3 separate regions of the Homo sapiens genome follow, and regions 1 and 3 are each linked to region 2. The links are contacts of gene promoters, found by promoter capture Hi-C in blood cells and fetal thymus (Javierre and others, 2016). All regions are on one chromosome and are shown on one strand. Each heading gives the region's core, a stretch centred on a gene start or on the middle of the fragment in contact. The rest is flanking DNA. Distances are from core to core; before and after follow the strand shown. Region 1 overlaps RABGAP1L (RAB GTPase activating protein 1 like). Region 2 holds the start of RC3H1 (ring finger and CCCH-type domains 1). Region 3 overlaps PRDX6-AS1 (PRDX6 antisense RNA 1).

Region 1 (3,705 bases), core at 707-3,206, 720 kb after region 2:
TGTTTGGTGGCATCATGGGCTGACATTAATACATCTCTTTAATGGGATTGGAAGTTAGGAGATGTTTCAAGGAGGAGATTACCTTGAACTGAGCTGTCCTGGTCAGTTGGCCATCTGAGAGAAAGAAATGGGGTCCCTGCCACAAGGCGCCTGGGAAATTAAATCCCAGTTAGAGAAATAGGAAGACACTCAGGAAGTAATCAGAAAGACACTTCACTGGTTATTTCCCCCCAGCAGTTTTGCTGCGATGAATTTCAGGGGTAGAAGCAGGAATGGTGGAATAAGGAATTGGAATTCAGGCCTACTTGTATAAGGCCCTCCTCAGTTGACCTATACCAGTATTTCTACATTTTTCTTATTTGACTTCTCTTACCTTGTAAAATATATAGAAATCAGTGGTTTCTAGGGTCTGCAGAGTGGGGTGGGTGGCACTAAAATACAGTAGATGTTAATACCCGTCTTAGACTTAATGAATCAGAATTATCCAGGGTGGGATCCAGGAATCTGAACTTTTAACAAATCTCTTTTGTTATTCTTAACTGGTACTCCTCAATTTACTGTTTAGGAATCTTACACATGGGGGAGGTTGAGACACTTAACTAAGCTAGTTGGTGGCAGAAATGAAACTGTGATATGGATCTTCTAACTCCTGCTCTAAAGCTTTTGATTTATAGTATAGTATTAATGAACTTCTATTGTGAACTTGCAGACCGTTTAATATTAGGTTCAATATACTATGTTTAAATGGGAATGAATTTCACAGGGCTTATAGAGCCTTTCCCCATAATTGTAAAATTTTTGCAGCAACCGCTATATTACTGTTGCTACAATTTTCTTTGCTAATTAGGTCTCTTTGCCTTGTAGCTCTCACTTTTAAATTGTTTTTGTTTTGTCATTTAGTAGATCTCAGAGCAATTAACTAAACTAATTCTTCCATCTTTTTTTAAATGGAGACATCTCCTCCTCACTATGGCAGGAAGATCTGTGATTTCTAGTATAACTGCTTGATGTGAGGACAGGGTTACTTGGGAAAGAACTTTCAGCATGAGTGATTTAATTATCTGCCTCCATTAGATAGGTACCTTTCTCTTGCTTGGCTCCTAATAAAGGAACAAGCACTCTCATCCATTTTACGGTTTAAATAAATTTTACAGTTAAATATGACTAGATATACTTTTAGTACCCAAAGTTGTGGATATTTTGTTCCATAAAAGCTAATTACTAATAGAAAATGGTTTGCTAGATAAATTACTTAACTGAAAATATACTAGAAGCTTATTTGTGCTTTCTAAAAAAGTTGATAATTATGATTCACTGGTTAGAAGTTGTAGATTTTACATATCCCTGATGTATAGATGGATAAGTGCAAATAGGAAAACTATGCTCTTAAATTATCATGATTGCTTGAAAACTTGGTAATGCTCAGTTCTCAGTCTGGTTTCATACTAGAAACTCCTGGAAGTTCTTAAAAATACAAGTGACCACATTCTACTCCTGAGAAATTTCTATTTATTTGACCTAAGATGGATCTCCTGCCTCTGTGTGTTATGAAAGCTCCCCAGGTGATTTTAATAAGCAGCCATGGTTGAGAGCCAATGGTCTAATGGAAAGAGAACTGAATTATAATCAGGAAACTTGTCATTCCAGTCTTAATTCTGTGAACTCAGGTAAATCATCTAACATATTTAAGCTTGCATTGTAAAATGGAGGTAATTAATAATGGCCTATATGCCGGATTAATATTTTTACAGTTGAATGAAACTATATACTCAAAAGTGCTTTGCAGTAAAGTGTTATACAGATGGTGGCATAGCAATTAAGATTTACTACGCAATATACTACTGTGAAGTGGTATGTTTAGTCTTTTGTACTTCTTGGCAGAAAGATGCTAGATCCCCTGTGGCAGAAAGAAACTTAGGCTCCTTAGCGATCCTCAGGGTATATTATTATGATTCTTAAAGTTCACTCTGTATTTTTATGTGTACCAGGCTGCTAGTGTCTCTAGGTGATAGGGGGAAAAGGTAGAGGAAAGGGTGGAGTTGCTCCTGCTGGTGATTTTTTAAAATTGTGAGTTCCTATAATTAGTAACATCCTTCTTACATCTTCATAGAGACATGGTTGGTAGCAGTGGAGTCGTTTATATAACTTTACAAACCCTCTCTTGTGTACTCTTTTTCAATGTTATTCTCTTAAATCACTTCTGTCTCTGCTTTCCCTAGTGTTTAAGCTTCACTAACATTTACCTATATATAAATGGATGAGGACAGAAGAGAAAGGGTCCCCAAAGATGAATACACTCATTACTGGTTTCCCAACATGATATAAACCTAGGACTTCACCCCTTGGAGGGATGAAAGTTTACTATGCATAGCATTTCCTGGTGTGTCAGTCTCGGTACAGCCTCTTGCTCAATTCATCAGCTGTTTCCAGGCAAAATTACATACCACTTCTTGAGTGTTTTAAAGCCTCCTAACTGTATATATGTGAGTTCTTTGATATATTGACTTCTTTTTCTTTGAGTCGATTCCCAGTAGTGGCATTGCTGGATCAAATGGTAATTATATTTTTATTTTTTTGAGAAATCTCCATACTGTTTTCCATAGTGGCTGTACTAGTTTACATTCCCACCAACAGTGTATATGAGTTCCCTTTTCTCCACTTTCTTGTCAACATCTGTCTTTTTTAATAATAGGGATTCTGGCTGAGGTATGCTATCTCATTGTGGTTTTGATTTGCATTTCTCTGATGATTCATGAGGTTGAACATTTTTTCATATACCTGTTGGCTGTTTGTATTTATTTTTTTGAGAAATGGCTATTCATATACTTTGCCCAAGTATGAATGGGATTATTTGTTTTTTTCCTGTTGAGTTGAGTTCCTTATCTGTTCTATATATTAGTTCCTGTTGGATAAATAATTTGCAAATATTTTATCCCATTCTGCAGGTTGTCTCTTCACTCTGTTGATTTTTTTGTTTTGTTTTTTTTTTTTTGTGTGTGGGAGCTTTTTAGTTTAATTAATTCCCAATCACTTATTTTTGGTTTTGTTGCCTGATCTTTTGAGGCCTTTGTAACAAATTCTTTGCCTAAACCAACAACCAGGAGAGGGTTCCCTAGATTTTTTCTTCTAATATTTCTATAGTATCAGGTTTTACTTTTAAGTCTTTAATCTACTTTGAGTTCATTTTTGTATATGGTGAGATAATGGTCCAGTTACATTCTTCTGCATGGCTATACAATTTTCCCAGCACCGTTTATTGAAGAGATTGTCCTTTCCCCAGTGTAAGTTTTTGTTGTTTGTTTTTGTGTTTTTTTGAGACAGAGTCTTGCCTTGTCACCCAGGCTGGAGTGCAGTGGCATGATCACTGCTCACTGTGGCCTCAACCTCATGGGCCCAGATGATCCCCCTGCCTCACCCTCCCAAGTAGCTCAGACTACAGGCATTTGCTGCCACACCTGACTGGTGTTTTATTTTTTGTAGAGATGGGGTCTCACTCTGTTGCCTAGGCTGGTTTTGAACTCCTGGGTTCAAGCAATCCTCCTGCCTCAGCCTTCCAAAGTGTTGGGATTACAGGTGTGAGCCACTGTACCCGGCCCCCAGTATAAATTCTTGTTGGCTTTGTTGAAGATCAGTTGGCTGTAACTATGTGTCTTTATTTCTGAGTTCTCTGTTTTGTTCTACTGGTCTATGTGGCTACTTTTATAC
Region 2 (3,897 bases), core at 162-2,661:
CTGTAGTGAGCCGAGATTGTGCCACTGCAATCCAGCCTGGGTGACAGAGCAAGACTCCGTCGCAAAACAAAACAAAAACGAAATCAAATTTCAAACTCAGAGAAAAGACTGGTCTTGAACAATTTCAGGAAAAATTACTGAAACACGAGACAAGGCACAAGAAGCTCTATGGCCGGAGATGAACCACCTGTCTCCTTTCGAAGTGCTTCCTGAGGTCCACTTTATGCTAGTTAATGTTGCTTCTTATACTGCATGTTAGTAATTCAAAACGCCTAGCTGGAATAAAAGTCCTCTTTAAACATTACAGTTTGTCTCCGCGTTGCCAGTGTTTGTTTCCAGTTTCATAGGCTATTCTGGTATGTCAAGAGTTGTGTTATTACTGTTCCAAAAGAGCCCTTGTTTCAATCCACTCTCACCTGGGATGCGGGCATAACTGATGTTTATAGAACTGATACTTAGAGATGTTTAGAGAGGCGCATCCCTTACCACTCCATCCTTTACCGATAACCACATTTTATATGTTTTTGTTGCATTTAAGTTTTTTGTTTTTTTTTTTTAAAGACACCTGCACACACACAATTTTCCCATCGCCAGCAGGGAGAAGACTACCAGGCTAGATCTCCAGGGACTTCAGGGAAACAGACACCGTGAAATCCACTTGGCCAAAGAAGGGGAGCGCTTCAGGGGCTGGGGGAGGAAGCAGCCCTGAGGTGCTGGGAGGCCGAGGCGGCGCCTGTTTACAGACGCCTTCGCCCTCCCCCACCCCCACAGACTAGGGGTCCAAAAAGCAGTTCCCGTGCGCATTCCCCGCCTGGCCCAGGCCCTGGGAGTACCACAGGAGCCAGGTAGCCCTTTCGCCCCCTCCCTCTCGTCCGAGCCTCCCTTCGTCCTCCTCTCGGCCTACCTACCCCGACAGGCCCTACAGGCGGCATGCAGAGGCCTGAGGCCTAAAGGACGCCGGCCACTGACAAGCCCCAGAACAGCCGGCGGGGGCCCTGAGGAGCCTGGGGCCGGCCGGGCTGCCGCTGCCGCGGAGGAGCAGAGGGCGGGCGAGGACAAACCCTTCCCGACCACAGCTGCCTATTGTTCCCGACTGAGGCCCCGGCCGCGGCAGCCCCGCTCCCCAAGTCGCCGCCCGCCGCTCGCTCACCGCGCTGGTCCGAGCAGCAGCTCCTCTCAGCTCCGAGTCCCCGCGGCCGTCGCCACCGCCGCGGCAGCCGCCGCCGCCGCCGAGGCCACCGTTGACTCTGATTCTGTCCCAGGCCGCCGGGCCACGGCTGCCGCCGCCACCGCCAGCACCGCCTCCGGCCTCCCACCTGCTGCTGCTGAGGCTGCTCCTGCAGCAGGGGCCATCTTGTTGCTCGGCCTCCTCTTCCTCCTCCTCGTCCTCCGCCGCCCAGTCGCTCGTTGTCCTCGTCCCCTTCCTCTTCCTCAGGCTCCGGCCCGCCCCGGAGACTGGGGCGGAGACGAGGGCGAGGATCCTCCCTCAGGAGGCGGGGCGGGCGGAGGGGAGGGGCGGGCGCGGGAGCAAAGCTCTGAGTCACCGGCCACCAACGCCCGGAGGGAGACCGGCGACGCTCTCCGCCGCGACCGAAAGTCTCACACGCCCTGAGCAGATGAACCGGTCCCTCGGTCCGGTCTGCCCTCCCGCACCGGCGCCTTTGGGCTCAGCGGGCCAGTGGCCAGATGGCGAGAGTAAATTGGGGGAATTTCTTTCGTTTCCATCGAACCCCACACTACGTCTACTCTTTCGGCTTTCTCAGCCGTTGTCCCCCAACTCTTGTTTCTTTTTCACGTCTTGTCCCCCACCCCATTTTTCTTCTTCCATATTATCCAGGTTCTGGATCTCATCAGCTTTGTCCTCGTCACCCCTCTGGGAGTTCAGCCTCCTAAGGCTGTGAAACAGCCCAAAAGGCCCGGACACGCTACTCCAAAACGTCTCTCCTGGGCTGTGTGAACAATAAGAGCTATTTGGGGACGACAGGAAAAGATATGGCCCATAGAAGGGCTCCTGAAATCTAACCTTGCGACTCTTTAAAAGTTTCTTGTCCCTTGTGGAAAAGGTGCCGTTTTGGTTTTGGGGAATGGGAGGTCCCTTCAGACAATTCATTTTAGCCAAACCCTCGCTTTTGAGAAGGGGAAGAAATGGGATTATTGTAACACCATACAGTACTAATTTCAAAATAAATCATCTAGAATAGAGGAGAGAGAGAGTCCCCAAATAAACAACCATTTAATACCTCTACTCGGCGCTATCACCTTTTTTGCTTCAGGATTTGACCAAGAGAGCAGAGATTATGTTTTTCTGTCCTTTCTTCACTGTTTACATCACAGTACCCCAAGAGAAGCACTTCTGCCTTTAACTTGATACATTGGAATCGCTATCACAGATAGTGTTTTTGTATTATTTTTAAGAAATATCACACACCTTCCTAAACTCTTGGCAGAGAAGAATTCTTTTTAGTTGTTAGCACCCTCCTGCTACTGAGATCTCAGCTTCTGTTTAGAAGACCTATTGTTGTCTTTCCACTGATTGGAATTTGCTGCCTCTGAACTGGGTTTAATCTGTAATCGTCTTTTCAGCCTACTAAATAGTAACCCCAGTCCTACAGAGAGTGAATTTCTAGCTACCACAGGGGGATTTAGGTTAGCATGTGCCAATCTAAAGGGATCTCTTAAAGCCTTTCCCTTCTCAGACCAGGCCTCTGTACCCTGCTAGGAAAAACAGATTAATCTGCTCCTCCTGCTTTTCCTCCTCCTCCCTTCTTCTCACTCCTAGGGAACCTTCCACAACAGAAGGTTTTAGCGACTGTTGCTAGGCAAACATGCCAACTTCCTTGTTTAGGTGAAGCGAGTAACTCAACTTCCATTGCAAGTAACCTAGATAATGTAATTTCTTTGAACTATTAATAGTTATACCACAGTTGGTAAGGCTCCTTAAAGGTTCCCTTAAGCAGTATGATTTTTACGTTGTTTATTTTTATCTCGTCAATATTTCAATTAAAAATACGTTAAAGGACAGATAGATGCAGTGGCTCACGCCTGTAATCCCAACATTTTAGGAGGCTGAGGGGGGCGGATCACCTGAGGTCCGGAGCCTGACCAACGTGGAGAAACCCCATCTCTACTAAAAATACAAAAATTAGCCAGGTGTGGTGGCGTGCACCTATAGTCCTAGCTACTCGGGAGGCTGAGGCAGGAGAATCACTTGAACCTGGGAGGTGGAGGTTGTAGTGAGCCGAGATCACGCCATTGCACTCCAGTCTGGGCAAAAAGAGCTAAACTCTGTCTCAAAAAAAAAAAAAAAAAAAAAAAAAAAGTTAAAAATGGCGGCGCTTCCCCAAACCCAAATTCATTTTAGTGATATAAAGATGCATTTGACAGAAAAAGAAGAGCAGCTTTGAAGAAAACACTTATGCTTACAATAAAAAATAAAAAACTAATCTGTGAGAAGTCATATGTTTTCAACTCCCCAGTCAGACTAGAAGTGTAAGATACAGGGGATAAGGCCGGGAGCGGTGGCTCACGCTTGTAATCCCAGCACTTTGGGAGGCCGAGGCAGGCAGATCACGAGGTCAGGAGATGCAGACTATTCTGGCCAACATGGTGAAACCCCGTCTCTACCAAAAATACAAAAAGCCCGGCGTGGTGGCGCGCGCCTATAGTCCCAGCTACTCAGGAGACAGAGGCAGGAGAATCACTTGAACCTGAGAGGCAGAGGCTGCAGTGAGCCAAGATTGTACCACTGCACTCCAGCCTGGATGACAGCAAGACTCGGTCTTGGCAGAGCATTGTGGCCCACGCCTGTAATCCCAGCACTTTGGGAGGCTGAGGAGGGTGGCTCTCCTAAGGTCAGGAGTTCAAGACCAGCTTGGCCAACATGGTGAAACCCCGTCT
Region 3 (3,633 bases), core at 991-3,490, 600 kb before region 2:
TTTGTGAGCATAGACCCAGGAGTCAGAGACACCTCGGTTTGGGGCCGAGCCCCACTGATTATCAGCTTTGCGGGTGCAGCAATAATAATCCTAGCTTCCTTATCTGGGATGTGGGAATAATGAAATACCCGCTTCATAAGGTTCGTGTGAGGGTTGATGTTATGAGGTAACAAATGTAAAGCTCTTAGCACATAGCTGGTGCAAAAAAAGTCTTCAATAAACAAGAACTCTTATTGGCATTGTAGCAGGTTAAATATTGTTAACATCTTACAGCTAGACCTATAATTTTTTTAGGGAGAGATCAATTTTGTTTAGGAAAACATCTTAATAAACCACGTGGAAGCGTGGCCAGCAATGAGACTCTGAAGTTACAAGCCATCAATAACCAAGACCAAAACCTAGAAAACCAAGTTTGAAAAAGCCAGAGTCCCATAGAGGGTGAGTACTGATTTCTCTCATTGCCTGACATTATAACAAAGAGGTTCAGGGCACAAAGATGAGATCTCACCTCCGTCTTCACCTCCCTCTTTTTAGTACTACTCCATCCTTTACAGATTCACCTACACACACTCACACATGCACACACACCACTCCCTTTTCAGGAAGAAAGCTACAGGCTCCAGTTAATTAGAAATTCTACTATTTCAGCTTTATTACTTCCTCTTTACTCTCTGAACTTTAAAGGAACACATTTCTGTAAAGTTTAAATTATTTCAATGAGGTGTATTACCTTTTTAACTGGGGGTGGGAGGGAAGCACTTTTTTTTTCTTTTTTTTTTTTTTAATGTTGAAGACTCCACTCAGTCATTTGAGCTCCAGGAAGCCTTCCCTGGCCACCCATAAGTTAAGAGAAGAGCCCCTCTTCTGAGCTCCCAGAGCACCCACTTCATACCTATGCTATAGAACACACCGCCAAGGACGGAAATTATCCAAAGGTTTGTGTCCATTGATTGCCATGCCAGGCATCCAGCTCTGCTGAAGCACGCAGGGGCCCTGACTTCCTCATTAGGTATTCTCAACACCTCCACCAGCAGCTGGTAGGCAGCAGAGCTATTGTTACTGAGCTGCCCACGGCACCAATGGATCTATGAATGAACCTGAACGTCTTCCCTGGAGAAAAGCACTTGCTTGTCAAGGGAGGAACAGGGGTCTGAAATGCTAACCCCTGCCCTATAGTATGGGTGTGCATACGGTGCACCTTCCAAAGCCCAGAGTGGCATTCTTATTACATCCCGGAAACCCCCTGGTCAGGGGCTTTTGGGGTGACATCCAATATGTAAATACCAGGGTCGGGTCCTGCTGAGTGGCATAACAGTGCCATATGTGAAAGTTCCACCAGCAGCAGAGGGCTCTTTCATTAGTCATTTCACTGCACACAGCTGTAAGGAATCTGGCGAAGCTTGATTTGGCTGGGAGGAGTGCATTTTCCACTTGTAGGCGTCTTGAAAACTTTCATACTAAAAAAAAAAAAAAAATTAACAACAAGAAAATCATCATAGTCCAAAATGAGAAGCCAGAAATTGAAGGTGGAGAGCCAGGGTAGCAAACATAATGGAGGGACTCCAAGACCGGGCTTCCACCAGGACCCTACACTGACTCACAGATGTGTAATGGTCATGGCGAGCCTTACATGTAAACAGAGATCCCAACATGTCCCAGAGGTAGTGGCTGTGGAAGCCTGGGCAGATGCCAGGCAGTATTCTAAGGTTAAGCATTGCTATGGTTTGAATGTGACCCCCAAATTTCATGTGCTGGAAACTTAATTCCCAAATTCACATATCGATGACATTTGGAGGTAGGGCCTTTGAGAGGTAATTAAGATTAAATAAGGCCATGAGTGTGTGGCCCCCACGGTGGGGCTGGTGGCTTTATAAGAAGAGTTAGAGTAACCTGGCCGGGTGCTGTGGCTCACGCCTGTAATCCCAGCACTTTGGGAGGCCAAGGCGGGCAGATCACGAGGTCAGGAGATCGAGACCATCCTGGCTAACACGGTGAAACCCCATCTCTACCAAAAAAATACAAAAAAATTAGCCGGGTGTGGTGGCGGGCACCTGTAGTCCCAGCTACTTGGGAGGCTGAGGCAGGAGAGTGGCCTGAACCTGGGAGGCGGAGCTTGCAGGGAGCTGAGATCACACCACTGCACTCCAGCCTGGGTGACAGAGCAAGACTCCGTCTCAGAAAAAAAAAAAAAAAAGAAGAGTTAGAGTAACCCAAGCGGACAAGCCTGCTCTTGCCCACTTGCCATGTGATGCCCTCTGCCACGTGAGGATGCAGCAAGAAGGCCTTCACCAAATGCCAGCACCATGTGCTTGGACTTCCCAGCCTCCAGAACTATAAGCAATAAATTTCTTGTCTTTATAAATGATCCAGTCTGTAGAATTCTGTTACAGCAATGGACTAAGACAGGCATGATTTGGGGTACAGAGAAGGAAAACTGAGAGGTCACAGAAGAGAGAGGAGGGTGGAAGCTGGGGGAGAGGCACTGATGGAACCAGCTTCCACCCTTCCCTGCAGGGCTTGGAAAGACCCATGAGGACACAAGGGAGAATAAAAGGAAGCAGCCCTGATTGCCATGGCTGGGTCAGGGTCAGGAGGCTAGGACTGCTTTATGTCCCTGCTATAATGGACTTATGGGTTTTTTAAGATTTTTTAAAATAGATTAACTATAGCTCCTAGAGCTGACTCTACTGATAACTTTACCCTGGACTCCCTCCCTGATTTTGACCTTAGTTTGTGTGGCGGGGGGGGGGATGAGAGGCTGCGGTCCAAATGGAATGCAGTTTGCCTGTCCTCTATCAGCATCAATGCATCACCTTTCCCCCGATTTTTACCTCATGATATATTTATGCATTTAACGCATGTTTATTGAGTGAGCTGCATGCAGCAAAATGCACGTAAAAAGCAATTTTTTTTCTTTTTTCTTTGTCCTTTCAACTCCTCTCTCTGGATTTGCCTTGTCCCTGCACTTGAGATGAAAGCTAACCAATACCACGGATTTTCTAGCCACTCTGAGCCATTAAATAAAGAGGCTCTTTAAAACAAACAAACAAAAAAAAAAGTAAAAAACAGTCTACTCAACCTGAAGCTTCTCCCCTCTCAGACTCCTTCACTTCAGGTTTGGAAACTCGGTACCAAGGAGGAAGGCATGGACTTCACCATTTTCTCTCCTCCACCTCTCGTAGCCAGCTGCTAATTCTCAAGCCTCAAGCTGTGAGAGATTGAGAACTGAGGGAAAGGACACAGTACTTGACGGCTCTTACTGTCATGACGCGGCCTTGGTGCCCTCTGGGTTTAGCATGTTTTCCAACGCTTTCCTTTCCAGCCTCACTTAGGCACATTGCAGTTAAAGAATATGGCCACCAGGTGGCAGTAAAGGCCTTTTTTTTTCCTGGCCAGTAGACCCTACCCTCCGGTTTTATATGGCTACATAATTTCTTTAAGATGATGTCAAATATGCTTTCCCTACATTTCAAAAGAAAAGAAAGTAAACACTTAAAACCACAAACTGGTCAACTTAGCAAAAACTAAATATAATTTAAAGATGATGCCCTAGGGAATAAACGTGTAAAGAAAACCTCCCAAGTTGTTAATTATGTAATTACATAACTAATTTACTAAGTCTTTCTCTTCCTC

What was found. The method cuts DNA at HindIII sites, captures the fragments that hold promoters and counts their contacts. A CHiCAGO score of 5 or more calls a contact.
Region 1: a contact is called between a fragment that was not itself captured here and the fragment with the promoter of RC3H1 in region 2, in 1 of 17 cell types (neutrophils). The highest score is 7.4, in neutrophils.
Region 3: a contact is called between a fragment that was not itself captured here and the fragment with the promoter of RC3H1 in region 2, in 2 of 17 cell types (fetal thymus and monocytes). The highest score is 5.8, in fetal thymus.

What each region holds. Positions count from the first base shown.
Region 1 is chr1:174,738,067-174,741,771 of GRCh38, forward strand. The region is part of intron 17 of RABGAP1L (RAB GTPase activating protein 1 like); the gene reads left to right. Among named protein-coding and RNA genes, the nearest start is that of RABGAP1L-AS1, 210 kb to the right of the region's middle. The HindIII fragment of the contact is 537 bases long and covers 1,689-2,225 here.
Region 2 is chr1:174,020,946-174,024,842 of GRCh38, forward strand. It overlaps RC3H1 (ring finger and CCCH-type domains 1), which reads right to left and starts at 1,412. Exons shown (of 20, transcript NM_172071.4): 1 at 1,151-1,412. It overlaps RC3H1-DT (RC3H1 divergent transcript), which reads left to right and starts at 1,538. Exons shown (of 2, transcript NR_187284.1): 1 at 1,538-1,695; 2 at 1,838-2,245. RefSeq lists enhancers at 38-157, 222-761 and silencers at 968-1,287, 1,398-1,647. The HindIII fragment of the contact is 5,810 bases long and covers 1-3,897 here.
Region 3 is chr1:173,417,166-173,420,798 of GRCh38, forward strand. It overlaps PRDX6-AS1 (PRDX6 antisense RNA 1), which reads right to left. Exons shown (of 2, transcript NR_125960.1): 2 at 624-1,457. The region is part of intron 2 of LOC100506023 (a long non-coding RNA gene); the gene reads right to left. It also overlaps a transcript of TNFSF4 not described here. Among named protein-coding and RNA genes, the nearest start is that of PRDX6-AS1, 42 kb to the right of the region's middle. RefSeq lists enhancers at 1,017-1,356, 3,115-3,214. The HindIII fragment of the contact is 1,686 bases long and covers 1,398-3,083 here.